Linked DNA regions of Homo sapiens: all the other regions are linked to region 1. The links are contacts of gene promoters, found by promoter capture Hi-C in human tissues and cell types (Jung and others, 2019). All regions are on one chromosome and are shown on one strand. The core of a region is centred on a gene start or on the middle of the fragment in contact, and the rest is flanking DNA. Distances in the headings are between cores, read along the strand shown.

Region 1 (2,776 bases), core at 123-2,622:
TGCTGGTGCCGTCCCCTCCGCGCATCAGGACGTGGTAGGTGAAGAAGTAGATGCCCGGGATGGAGCAGGTGAACTTGCCGGTGGTGGGGTCGTAGTGGTTTCCGAGGTTGGTGACCACGTCGTCGAACTTGAGCACCTCGTAGCCTTCATGCTGCCGCTTGAGGCCGGCGTAGAAGGCGATCTTGGGCACCGTGCTGTAGGTGGCGGCGCTGATGGCCCCGGCCGCGTTCAGGCCGGGCGCCCCGGGCGGGCCCGGCAGGCCTTGGCGGCCCGGCTCGCCCTTCTCGCCCGGGGGCCCCATGGGGCCGGGTGGCCCGGGCTCTCCGGGGGGCCCGCGCGGACCCGCCTTCCCGGGCCTGCCGGCCTCGCCTTTGGGGCCCTGGATGAAGGTGGGCAGGGACTGCATGAGGCCGCGGTCGGGCGTGGCAGCGGTGCTGGGCGCCTTGGTGCCCCCGTAGGGGTCGCAGACCATGCGGCAGGTGCCCAGCATCTCGTAGTGCGCCGACGTGCCGGCCGAGCTCACCAGCACCGGGATGAGGATCACCAGCAGCAGCACCATCACCACCCCCAGCGCCCCGGCGGCGATCAGGCGCCTCCTGCTGCCCACCAGCCGGCTCAGCGCGGGGCGATCCTCTTGTCTGCTTTTGGACAGAATTTTGAAGGTTGGGCGGGGACCTCTTCAGAGCCGAAAACAACCCCCTGCGAACCCCAACTCCCCTGGGCGTGCGTGCGCCGGCCGCTGCTGCCGACTCCTGCTCCCCCCGCGGAGGCTGCGGCTGGGGAGGGAGCGCGGGCGCCCAGTGACTTGAGCCGAAGTCCCGAGCCCGGGGTGGGGGCCGGGGGAGGGGTGCGCGGGGCGCCCTCGCCCCCCGCGAGCTCCTTCGCACCTGTGGCTGCAGCCGGCGCCGGCGCGGCCACCGGGAGGGCAGAGCCAGCCGCCGCCTCCTGAGCTCGCCCGGGCAGCTCACACTTTTATGCCGCCGCCGCCTGCGATCGACTTTTCCGTTTTTGCAGACTGCGCCTGTTCGCACCAACTTTCCGTCTGAAGTTGCCTTTTTCTGCCTCCTCCTCCTCTTCTTTCGCTCGCTCAGTTCGCCCGTCCGCTGCCTTTTTTTTTTATTGCCTCCTTTCTCTCTTCCTCCTTTGCCACCACCACAACTCGAATAGACGCGCACCCCAAAGCCCCGCGTGGGCCCGGGCGTCCCCCGGGTGCGCCCAGCGGCGGCGGCGGCGGGCACGGTCGGCACGGCGAGGCTCAGAGCTGGGGCGGAGGAGCGAGCGAGCAGCGGCGAGCGCCTCACGGCCGGGAGCGGAGCGAGAGAGAGACTGAAGGCAGAATTCTGCCTGGGTACCACCTGCCAGGAGAAGAGGAGGCTGACAAACGCGCGCCGGAGCAATTTATAGGCACCCAAGGCACAGAGGAAGGGGAGCCGCTTTGGCATCTCATTGCAGCATCTGCTCTGCTCATCCCACTCAGAGAGAGTTTGGCATTACTCTGACAATGTGGGATTTTTTTTTTTTTTTCGGCCTCTCTTTTTTTCTCTCTCTGCACATGGATGAACAGTGAGATTCTGAATACTCCCTTGCTGAACCAAGCGATGGCAGGTCCTGCTGGACCCACCTGGGGAAGGGAGACAGCTGTGCGACAGCTTTCAGAGCTCAAGGGTCACACCTAAATCCCCGATTTCCCCACTGCCAGCAGCCCCAGTTGGAGGGTGGAGGTGAAGGTTGAAAGGAGGGTGGCTGAGTTGACAGTTTCTTTGCTAGCTCCTCTACAATCAGTGCTTCAGGTGTTTTCAAAATGCCACTGTTAACAGAAGGAGGGCCTTTTAGAATTTTCCAGATGGTAGATGTGATTTTCTTTTAACCTGATGGTTTTCCTCCTCTGCCTTGTAAATGAATAAGATGTTGCCCCAAGAACAGTGAGGTATGTTGAAAAGCCAAAGAACATTTGTGAATGATTTTAAATGAACATGTCCACCGCCTCTGGGGGAGGAGGGGGTTGGTCCTTTTTACAAATGCTGCACCGTGGTGAGTGCATACATACGTACTGTGCTTACAGTCTTACAGTTCTAGCAGTCTTTCGGGGGATACCGCCAATGGCCCTGAAGTTGCGTTTACTTAAAGTCGCTAAATGTACAAGAAATAACCACTTGTCAAAATGGCGTCAAAAGATCAAGCAAGAAGCTTTTGCACAAGTGCTGGGCAAGGTCTTTTCCTAGCATATGGAAAGAGTTCTATAAGCTCCATAGCAGATTTCCCGAATATACATTGAGGGAGGGGAGAAGTAGGAGAAATACAAGAAAGAAGAGCCCCCATTCTCAGTGGGTGAGCTGCAGAAGGAACAGCATGGTTTATCATATTACTGGAAGGCCTCCAGGGTAGATATCAGGCAAGTTACCCCACCAACAAATACATAAGACACACAAGAATGGCTTTAAATAAATAAGTAGAATTGAATCCTAAATCATACTTTTGCATTCAGGAGCAACAGATGTCAATCAAACGTGGGTGACATTTGCTTGTCAATACGAGGATGATGGCTGGGAAGACGGTGACTTATTACATCAGGGTGAGAATCTGAAATGAGAAAAGCAGGAACAAATAAGACTACAGCAAGCAAACAGTAACATCCTGGGTGACGATCAGCAGCCTGTGATCTTGTCTGCGGGTGTCACAGCATGGACTTCTCCTTTCCTCCCTGTGCCTCAATCTCCCCGCCCCCCAGCCTACTCCAGTCCACCCCACCAATTTAGTTCTTTCTTTCTTTCTTTCT
Region 2 (2,776 bases), core at 76-2,575, 480 kb before region 1:
AGGGAAAAAAATTAAATTTACATTCATATTGAGAGGAATTTGAAGGAAGTAGCAACATAACTGCTTTGTTGTGTGCTCTGATTAAAAGAGAAAGCAGGCCGAGAGTGGTGGCTCATGCCTGTAATCCCAGCACTTTGGGAGGCCGAGGTGGGAGGATCACTAGCTCAGGAGTTCGAGACCAGCCTGACCAACATGGTGAAACCTCGTTTCTACTAAAAATACAAAAATTAGCTGGGCATGGTGGCAGGCGCCTGTAATCCCAGCTACTCAGGAGGCTGAGGCAGGAGAATTGCTTGAACCCAGGAGGCGGAGGTTGCAGTGAGCTGAGAGCGTGCCACTGCACTCCAGCCTGGGCGACAGAGCAAGACTTTGTCTCAAAAAAAAGAGAAAACAAAAACTAAATATGTTATTCCAACTTTTGGAAAAATTTTTATTTAATACAAATGTGCTCAGGGCAAGAGTCTATATACACAAAGTATTTATATGTATTATATATATAAATCTATATTATATATATATAATTTGATATATATCTATTTTATTCAAATCAAATGAGACATCTCGCTTTCTGACATACAAGCATATGGTATGTAAATGTGATATGTACTTCCTAAAATAAAGAACTTTTTTATAAACCTCAATTTGGATGACTTGCATTGAGAAATGATATTTGATTAATATATTGTATGTAATTACTGCATTTGCTTTATTTTATATCCATGACACTTAATATGACTAACAAAGACATAGAACACAATATTGTCTTTTCGTACAGTTGCTGTGAAATCACACTGATAGCTGATGATAGACCATTCATTCAGTTGTTTTGAAACATTTTTCTTGAAGCTCTTCGGTGGCTTAAGTTTTCCCCTGACTACTGGTTCTAGAATAGGATTAAGTGAAATAGCCGGAATGTACCTCTCCATCTTCAGATTCAAGTGCATTTTTAAACACTTGCACTATGCCCATTTTTAAAAGAAATGAGATTAGTCATACATAAGGCCAGAAAAAAATTTCTTTATTATGGATTGGCTAGGTATTTGATTTCTTTATATTGGGCTCTAATCAATTTCAAATTGCAGTAGCTTTCATTTCTGAAATGGGGACTGAATCGGGCAGTTTCCCTTGCAAAGTCTGAATTCCCGGTTCCTCAAACGGTTCTCAATCTGAGCATGGTGGACCTCTCCAAGGAACTATCAGCAGGTTAGTCATAAATCAGAGAGCCTTCTGTTTACCCCTATGACTGATCTCTAGGAACAGGATCAATGCGCTTCATTCCTGAAACCTGAAAACAAGTATCTGTGAGAGAGGATGTCAAGAAAGACAATATTTTAAAAGGTCAAACCTTAATTCACCTTGGTTCCCAGAAATATTCCTTACAGCTTTTTGATGAAAACAATTTCCTAGCCTTTGATGATTACATTCTAACAGCCCTGCAGTCAGGAACATTAAAAGTAGTTATAGGCTCATTTTTATTCCAAAAATTCTTAGCACTGCTAAATCAACATCCCCCTTTTCAAGCCCAGAAACAAAGGTAACAACTGACCAATTTCTAGAATATAAGTTCTCATATAAATTCTGATATAAAAGTATATTCAGGAGGTAGCTTTTGTTGAAAATAAGGGTAATGTCATTTCTAAGATGCATGTGTAGTATGTAAAATATATGCAGTGAAAGAAACTAAAAGAAGCATATTTTATTCTATTTTATCGTTTTGCTTGATGCTTCAGTGACAATTATGTTGAAAACTTTCTCTTGCAATTCATCTGTGTAAAATATCAGTAAGATTACACCTTCAGGATGAAATCAGGAGAAAAATCTTTTCATTTTTACTACTTTAAGATGTATTTCTTGTCCCAGAGCCCACCATTTTTCAAGGTATGTAGTTTGAAGAAATAGCATTAACAACTTTTTGCATAAAAAAACTTTCATGAATGCAAACTTTGAGTGATTTTCTGGTAAATCTAATTTATTTAAATTAGCTTTATTTAATTACCCATACAGCTGTTCTGTGCCCTGAATATAGCCCAAGGGACTATTTAAAGTGCTTAAGTCTAAATGTCATGTTTTATCACTATATAACATGTAGCAAACTACAACAAAAAAATTTTGTTGTTCACTGGGTAGTACTTCAAGAATATGGCATTCCTTTCTTTTTTTCTCTGATATGATAGTAGTTACAAAGCTACAAGCTAAATATAAGTAGGATTGACTTTTTTTTAACACTGTCATGTCATCATTCAAGTTACAGCTATATCCTTGCTGAGAGAAGACTCTTCCATTCCAATAGTTTTAATTACCATCTATACCTAGAGTTTTCAAGATCCATATCACAGCCCACTTTTCTTTCTCGTTCTCTAGACCCTACATCCAATGTCAACTGAACGTCTCCTCTTAAATGGTCCACATGTCCAAAGTGGAATTCACCATCTTTCTTTCAAAAAGATCATCTTGTTGTATTCTAACATCAACAAATGGGGCTTCATTTACCGTTTAGATGACTGGTTCTAAGATGATTTAGGGCATAAGATGGCTTAGAGCTGACATCACCTCTATCCTTACATGGAACAAACTGTAGGCAATATCACTACTTAGCATACTAGAAAGGGCTTGGACTCTGAAGTCAGATGACCTGGGTCTGAATCGCAGCCCTACTGTTATTTACAACATAATCTTGGGCAAGTTATTTCTGGAAGCCTCGGTTTCCTCATCTATGACAAAAATACAATCAAACGTCCCAGCGATATCTAGAGAATTTAAGGAGAAAATGTATGTG
Region 3 (2,776 bases), core at 149-2,648, 380 kb before region 1:
TAACAAAAATATGTGTAAGTCAGGGAAAGAATGTAAGGCTTATGGTTTTATGGTGAATTTGATCCTTAAAAGTATAACCTCCCAAGAAATATTTTGAATTTGCTTTTTATTTGCCTTCCTCACTTTTTTAATAACAGCCCAAGAAATGCAGCGCGGGAAGCATCAGGATGGGGAAGAGGATGGCTTTCTTTTATGGATTCCAAGAAGGTTGTGAGAAAAGGGAATATAGGAAAAGTGAACTTGAAGACCTGAAAATCAGTAACTTTGAGATCATTAACTTTAAAATCACCCTAAGCAGTGAATCCCACAGAAAGTCCCTGAATACCTGTGTGGGGAGCTGTCCCCAAGTTGAATCACTCTGCTCTAGAATAGACAAAATGGGGTTTTAAGGCAATAGTGGTCACACACACCCAGCCATAAGCTAGACCTAAGTGTGATGGCCAGCTGGCACTCAATCTGCTTCTGACTCCTTCTCCCTTCCTCTTACTTAGTTTTCCTCTTTTGCACTCTCCCCTTTCATCTTTGGCTTTTTCTTCTACCTATCCCATTTTTCACCCCTCCGGTTTGGCAGCTGTCTCTTTATCCAGCTGTTGTCCTGCTTTTTCTTCCTTTCACTCTCTGATTTATCTTTCCTTCCTATCCTCCCCTTCCTCCTTGCATCCTCATTCTCTTTTTGACAGACATGAATTCAAGTTTTTAAGTTTGTGCAATTTTTAGAGTGGTTTTAGGTTTACAGAAAAATTGTGCAGAATGTACAGAGAGTTCCCATAGCCCATATCCATCCCTCCCTCCCCCTATGTTAACAGCCTGCATTAGTGGGTTACCTTGTTACAGCTGATATGCCAATTCTGAGACATAATTATTAACTAAACCCCACAGTTCATATGAAGGGCGACTCTTTTTGTTGTGTGCTTCTGTGGATTTTGACAAATGTCATGTATCTATGATTACACATTATATAGAACAGTGTCGCTGCCCGAAAAAGTTTCCTATGTTCCATCTCTTCATCACTCGTTCCTTCCCCCTGCAATTACTTTTTCTTAAAAACTAATACCCACAACTTCACCTATGTGGCCATCGACAAAAAACAAAGTTGATTTATCTCCAGGCAGTCTTGTAGGTGTTTAAGAACAGTAACTCATATTCCATTCATTATTTCATTTGATTAGTATAATAATTGTCACCACTTTAGGGATGAATCTATTGAATCTCCGAAAATCCAAATGACTTGTTCAAGGCTATACGACTAATTGAGGATGGGTGTGGATGGAGCCAGTATGCATATTTGCTGATGGTTGACCAATGGTCTCTCCATGCTACCGCTTCTCAATTGCCCTGAGCTTTATCAGAGACGACGGGAGTGTGTTAAGGAGGACACCGATTTGTGGTTCATGACTTTCAAGGATTCTGACAGTCCTCATCTATAATACATTTATCAAAAGGTACAGCTCAAGTGCTCTTATGCAGACTTTGATGATGCACGGAAGCATTTAATAACTTATATCTCTAAAAATTTACTTCATGTGAACTTTTAAATATTATCCTATCATATCATCCCTAGATTAGATTATTTCCTCCTGCCCTCAACCCACCCTCCCAATATTTAGGGGTTTGTTATTCTTAGTAGAGTGCCAGTACCATATATTTTACAATCAAACCAAATTCAAATAGGAACTTCTCAGCACTTTTAGTTTCAACTGCAATCTCTTAGCCATACATTTTTGTTTCATGTTGTTCAGACATTCTGTATACTGCTGATTCACACACAAAGGGTAGCTTTTTGCCCTGGGTAAAGACAGGCTCAGCCGTGCTCGTTTTTTAGTTTTTACTAACACTCTCCATGCGATGCAGAGAGCACAGTTTTGTTTATGCTGACAGCTGTGTGTGAATATTTTTACTATTTTGAGATGTGAACAGGTTGACTTCTTGGGTGTACAGGCAAGAGAGTACATTGTTATTGGCACAGTAGCACTTCCTTGCAGATTAATAATAGATTTTCTTAATTCGGACTTTTTTCAGTGATACTACCAGATCACAAAAGGTATAATAATCATATTTAAGTTCCAAAATTTTTCACCAAATGCAACGATGAAAAAAATGTTAATGTAATTAGTTAAGTGATTACTCATGTAGCAGACAGAAATAAAGGTAGGATATTGCAGGAAATCATATTCGAGCCAGATTCCTTGTCCCAAGTCTCAATTCTGCTTTAAGATAGACACTTTTAGGAGCTGTTCCTTCATTCAAATGACTAGGATACAAGTACATCAGTACTTCAGCTCACTTACTTCAGCTCCCTGAAAGATATCCATTGGTCAATGTATCTTATGTTTTGAAGTTGGACCATGAAAACAATTCAACTTGTTCTACTAGTCATGCAACTTATTTTTAAAGTGTTAATAGGCCTTACTTTTAGAGCAGTTGTAGGACTGTAGAAATACTGCACACAAAGTACAGGGAGTTCCCAGGTACCTCCTCTCCCCCTTGTTACCAAAATGCTAGGGTTTTGGTCTACGTCCTGCTGTTTGCTGCACAGAAAGCCAATCACTGAGACAATGAGTATTGCCAGGGAAGAAGGCTTTATTCTGGTGCTGCAGCTGAAGAAATAGGAGATCAGTCTCAAATCCACCTTATAACCAACTAAAACTAGGGGTTTATATAGCATGGAATAATTGTAACCATTTGTGGGAAAATAGGAGTTAGGGAGGGGTAAGGAAGAGGAGTTGAATCACATGCAATGCGGGTGAGAATGTAAATTAGTTCAGCCACTGTGGAA
Region 4 (2,776 bases), core at 71-2,570, 330 kb before region 1:
GGAATAAACTTAAACTTAATGTTTGCTGCTTGTGTTCAGTGATCTCTTTTGATTTCTATCCTGGGAGAGTGCAAGAACCTGGGGTTACCACTGAAATGTCTGACCTACAGAGAACAGCAATCATGGAACTCTTCAAGGATACTAGGGCTCCCCTCACAAATTTATTTCTGAAAGTATTGGTAAATGGTATGCCTTCTAGACCCTGCCCATGTGGGTGGTAAGTAGGTCTTCAATGATAAATCCAATTTAACATTCCGGTGTCTCTAAGCCTTTGAATCTCTTCCTCCATATTAAATCAAGGGAGATCCAACGTTTTTAATTCGCTCATACTGGGCCATCTTTTGATCCATGTTTCAGCAATAAACCAAACAAACTGAAAGAGCCCTTTCTAACTCCCTGAACTGGAACATTAAATGCAGAATCTCTTCTTAGTGAGTCCATATCAATAAATTCAGCCCAATTCAACTTTATGTTCCTTCCACCATTACCCTATACCCTTAATATCTATTCTATGTATGTCCCCCAGATTTTTGCTTGTGTGAATTAGAAAATTCAAGTAGTTAAGCTGAGCGCGGTGGCTCACGCCTGTAATCCCAACACTGTGGGAGGCTGAGAAGGGTGGATCACGAGGTTCAGGAGTTCAAAACCAGCCTGGCTGACATGGAGAAACCCCATCTGTACTCAAAATACAAAAATTAGCCAGATGTGGTAGTGTGCACCTGTAAACCCAGTTTCTCAGGAAGCTGAGGCAGGAGAATGGCTTGAACCTGGGAGGTGGAGGTTGGTGAGCTGAGATTGCACCACTGCACCCCAGCCCGCGCAACAAAGCGAGACTCCATCTCAAAAAAAAAAAAAAGATAAAGAAAATTCAAGAATTCAAGTAGTTCTTTTGGCATGTAGTACATCTCCGCATAAGTCATATTTTGTACCTTATCTTTAGGGGTCTGCTGAGACTTGAGTCTTGTTACAAGTCTAGAAGAAAAGAGCGGTAGCAGGGTGGATACTGAGGATAATCAGCATTATCTTACGTGGCAGCTGCCTCAGGGGAGGCCATTACCCTTTTCCTCAGTATTAGTACTCTCAGATGGTGGCGGAAAAGCTGATACCACTGTGGTAGCGGGGACCCAATTCCACCTGGGGTAGGGCAGCCACTTCCATTGGTGTGGGGAGACTGCTTTCAATGTCAAAGAAGATTCATCATAATTCAGGGGCTTAGTGTCCCCAGCTGCGTCAGGGTATTTCCACAGGCCCCCATCCCAACTTACATTTTTTCCCCAATAAGTTGCCCTCACTTTAACAGCAGTCACCCTGTAGAGCTGGGACTTCATCTCGCATTAAAATTCAGCCAATTGCAGGACGAAGTTCTTAATTTTCAGCAATTTCCACCCTGTGGCTACAAGTGATAATGCCCTCCTTCAGAGGACACTTAGAAACTCTTAGGTCATTTATGGGTCTCTTTCTCTCACTCTCTCTTTTTTTTTTTTTTTTTTTTGACACAGACTCTTGCTGTGTCACCTAGGCTGGAGTGCTATGGTGCAATTTCGGCTCACTAAAACCTCCACCTCCCAGGTTCAAGCAATTCTTATGCCTCAGGCTTCCGAGTGACTGGGGCTACAGGCATGTACCATCAAACCCGATTAATTTTTGTATTTTTAGTAGAGACGGGGTTTTGCCACGTTGCCCAGGTTCATTTATGAGTCTCTTGAGCTGGGAATTCAAATCCTTGAGTTCATTCATTTATTTCAACACTTTTTCCAATAACATTAGAAACAACCATCTGACATCATTATGTTCCTTAGTATTCAAAAAATGTCCAAAAGTATCAATCATATACAGAGTCACCAAACTCCTTGCTTCTTGTAAGTAGTTAATTATGAGTATCCAGTGCAGATAATATGCATGTCTCTATAAACAGATGATGGCTTAGACGATCAGTGCTCTCTTTACCACTGGAAATAGCATCACTATTGCCTTTAAATCTAATCAGATGTGAAAGCCAATTCCAGAAACCCTAGATCTAATTAAGAAAGTCATTATTAAAATTTGATTGCTCTATAAACACTCTCAGTACCAAAATCTGTATTAGTTAGGTTTCTCCAAAGAAACAGAACCTATGTAGAGATCTATAGATAGGTATCTATGTGCACACACACACACACACACATATATATATATACACAGACATACAGTCACCAACTTATGATGGTTTCACTTACGATTTTTCAACTTACTGATGGTATAAAAGTGGTATATTTTAATAAAATATTCAATATATTACATGAGATATTTAACAGATTGTTATAAAATAGGCTTTGTGTTAGATGCTTTGCCCAACTATAGGCTAATATAAATGTTCTGAGAATGTTTAAGGTAGGCTATGATGGTAGGTAGGTTAGGTGTATTAAATGCATTTTCACATTTCCACAATAAACATGACTTACGGGGCTATAACCCTTAAGTAGAGGAGAATCCAGGGGTATGGGTTTATTATGGTAATTGGCTCAGATGATTATGGAAGCCAACAGGTCCCACACTCTGCAATCTGCAACCTTGGAGAACCAGGAAGGCTGGTAGTGTTACTCAGTTTGAGTCTGAAGGCCTTAAACTGGGGCAGGGCTGATAGTGTTAAGTCCATGTCTGAGTCAGAAGGCCTGAGAACGAGGTGCTCCAATCTCCCAGGGCAGGAGAAGACGAATGACCCAATTTAAACAGAATGATTCACCCTTCCTCCACCGTTTGTTCTATTTGGGCTCTCAATGGACTGGACGATGTCCAC
Region 5 (2,776 bases), core at 134-2,633, 270 kb after region 1:
CGCACCCCTCCTATGACTCTCCAGCCTTTGGCCTTGCACTAAATTACATTACCAACTGTCCAGGTTCTCCAGCTTGCAGACAGCACATCATGTGACTTCTTAGCCTCCATAATCACCTGGGCCAATTTCCATAATAAATCTCCATATATATATTGCCTATGGATTCTGTTTCTCTGGAGAACTCTGACAGGCAGACTTGTACCATAAAAGTACTAAGGTGCTTTGAAACTCCCATTAAAAGGGAAGTGCCTGAAAATTTTTTTAGGGTTAATAAAACCTTCAAGGACCAGAGTCCATTTTGTTTTATTTCTAACTACCTTCCTCCTCTGTCTCTTCTTTTTTCTTTTTAGCTTGTTTGTATTGACTAATTTTTCTAGCATAAACTATTTTATTTGTGTAACACAAAACTTATGCAGTTTTAGAAATCATGGTTATAGAATGTTGGAGCCAAAGGAACTCTAGAAATCAAACAACTTAAGCTCCTCAATTTACAGATAAGAAAACAGTGGGCCAGAGAAGTAAAGGTATTCTAAGATTCCACGGGCCAGCAGAATCAGAACAGAGTACAATCAAGGTTTCCAGATTCTAAATCTTGAGCTTCTTCTTTGCAAACTGGAAAATTATTATTGACACCTGGATGGAATGTCCTTTATGACAGCAATTCCAACCATAATAAAAATAATATAAACCTGAATGGAAAATTCCTTCCTATCTAGAATAAAATAAGACACAAAAGCAAAGCAAAGAACGCACAGTTCCTAGCAGGTGAGACCTGCCCTGTCATCCCATGAGATCCTGAGAAAAATCACTGGATTGTTCTGGAGCACAAATTCCTCATCTTTAAAATGAAACAAATAAAAGAGAGAAAAAAGATTATTTATGTAATGACCACTACATCACTGTGTTGTGCTGAGCACTTTACATATGTGTTCACTAGAATCAAAAATGTTAGAACAGTCCCGGCGTGGTGGCTCATGCCTGTATTTCCAGCACTTCGGGAGGCCGGGGCAGGCAGATCACCTGAGGTCAGGAGTTCGAGACCAGCCTGGCCAACATGGTGAAGCCCCATCTCTACTAAAAATACAAAAATTAGCCAAGTGTGATGGTGGGTGCCTGTAATCCCAGCTACTGGGGAGGCTGAGGCAGGAGAATTGCTTGAACCCAGGAAGCAGTGGTTGCAGTGAGCCGAGATCGCGCCACTGCACCCAAGCCTGGGCGACAGAGTGAGACTCCATCTCAAAAAAAAAAAAAAAAAAAAATTAAAAAAAAATAAGGTAATAACAAACAACAATAGCTAATGCTTACCAAATGCTTAAAACATGACTGGCACAGTTCTAAGAACTTTATCAATTCACCTATTTCTCACGATAACCCTACAAGGCAATAGTAGTCTCTTCTTCCCTCTCAATTTTAGATGAGAAAAATGAGACACAAGAGGTTATGTAACTTGTCTGTGATTTCAGAACTAGTAAGCAGAGAGAACCCCCTAAAAGCTGTTTCCAAACAAGAAGCTGATTAATTCTGATACTGTCTTACTGGCTAAACAAATATGCCACCGGTTGCATCCACAATTTGCCAACTGCATGGCATTTTATGATGTTCAAAAGACAAGGAGTTTAAGTACACAGGTTGTTTTTTTGCCAAAGTTAAGACATGAGCAGTATTAACTGTGCACACTTTGCATTTCAGAAAATTGGGTGTATCTTCAACCCCCCGGACCCCTAAACAAGCCGCCCAGGTGAGGCACCGGCACCCTCTTCCCAGGGGCTGATGTCAGACGTTTCTCTATCACTCTCCATTCTCCGCTTGAGCAGCAGCTCTCTGCGTCCGCCTCAACCTTCCCCCATACTTCTCACCTGAACCTGGCCCCACATTTCCCTGGGAAAAGTAAACCTTCTTTTCAAGCAGGAGGAGCTGGAATCCTAAACCTGCTGTCTGTACAAAAGCCACATGACTCTTGGAGCTCTAAGAGTTCTAAGTCCCTCAACAGTCACTAAATATTAGAAGACCATGGTGTGCCACCTGCTCTTACCCGAAGGCAAAACATGATTTGGTCTCGTAGGCAGCTCAACCATTATTTTTAACCTTGGATTTTGATTCTCTCCCCACATGTCATCCCTTATCCTGGCCTCCAAGTGTTGCCTTCTCCAATCCTATAACCAGTCACCTAGATTGACATTGATCATCAATCAGCCCCTAAGTCAAACTTAGGTGTGTTTCTTCTGATCTGCTCCAGGGCCTCGCTACGTCTTCACTGTGTGTGATGTCTCTTCTCCCAGTCCTGCTCCAGTCCATTCCCTCCACCTTTCTCTCAACACTGCAAACAAATCTGCCATCAATGACACCCACAAACCCTCACCCTCTTGTTCTTTCCTCACCCCAAAGGCCCATTAGACTCTTCACCCCTAAATCCCCCTCTTATCAGAGCTCCCACAATGGCAGCTTCAAAACAGACTATGCCACTGCTCAACAAGTATGAAATTGTCAAACTGTTCATCACAATGATCATTTTTTGAGTACCTGGTCTGCATCAGATACTACATACACATTATCCTTCATTTGAGGAGAAGCTTATTTTTCCCACTGTACCAAGGAGGAAAAAGTGTAGGTGCAGGAAACGTGGAGGCAGCATGGCAGATTTTAGGAATCCTGAAACCCTACATCAAAATAGAGAAACTAGGCAGCAAGAAAAAATTCAAGGACACAATTTACAACAAAACTAGGTTATAAAGTGTCCCCACAAAAAACTCCAAAATACAAGTAGATGAGGACAAGC

The links. The method cuts DNA at HindIII sites, captures the fragments that hold promoters and counts their contacts. A contact is called where the count stands out against the background at its distance.
Region 2: a fragment that was not itself captured here is called in contact with the fragment with the promoter of C1QL3 in region 1 in 1 of the 25 tissues and cell types used here (aorta).
Region 3: a fragment that was not itself captured here is called in contact with the fragment with the promoter of C1QL3 in region 1 in 2 of the 25 tissues and cell types used here (heart right ventricle and hippocampus).
Region 4: a fragment that was not itself captured here is called in contact with the fragment with the promoter of C1QL3 in region 1 in 2 of the 25 tissues and cell types used here (H1 embryonic stem cells and lymphoblastoid cells).
Region 5: a contact is called between a fragment that was not itself captured here and the fragment with the promoter of C1QL3 in region 1, in 3 of the 25 tissues and cell types used here (H1 embryonic stem cells, heart left ventricle and mesendoderm cells).

What each region holds. Positions count from the first base shown.
Region 1 is chr10:16,520,507-16,523,282 of GRCh38, forward strand. It overlaps C1QL3 (complement C1q like 3), which reads right to left and starts at 1,373. Exons shown (of 2, transcript NM_001010908.2): 1 at 1-1,373. The coding sequence starts at 559. RefSeq lists silencers at 224-283, 594-813, 1,084-1,313. The HindIII fragment of the contact is 8,174 bases long and covers 1-2,776 here.
Region 2 is chr10:16,040,694-16,043,469 of GRCh38, forward strand. No RefSeq gene overlaps it. Among named protein-coding and RNA genes, the nearest start is that of MINDY3, 180 kb to the left of the region's middle. The HindIII fragment of the contact is 6,419 bases long and covers 1-2,776 here.
Region 3 is chr10:16,143,803-16,146,578 of GRCh38, forward strand. No RefSeq gene overlaps it. Among named protein-coding and RNA genes, the nearest start is that of LINC02654, 130 kb to the right of the region's middle. The HindIII fragment of the contact is 6,202 bases long and covers 1-2,776 here.
Region 4 is chr10:16,189,899-16,192,674 of GRCh38, forward strand. No RefSeq gene overlaps it. Among named protein-coding and RNA genes, the nearest start is that of LINC02654, 87 kb to the right of the region's middle. The HindIII fragment of the contact is 5,472 bases long and covers 1-2,776 here.
Region 5 is chr10:16,794,116-16,796,891 of GRCh38, forward strand. The region is part of intron 2 of RSU1 (Ras suppressor protein 1); the gene reads right to left. Among named protein-coding and RNA genes, the nearest start is that of RSU1, 22 kb to the right of the region's middle. RefSeq lists enhancers at 1,352-1,571, 1,782-1,841. The HindIII fragment of the contact is 4,697 bases long and covers 1-2,776 here.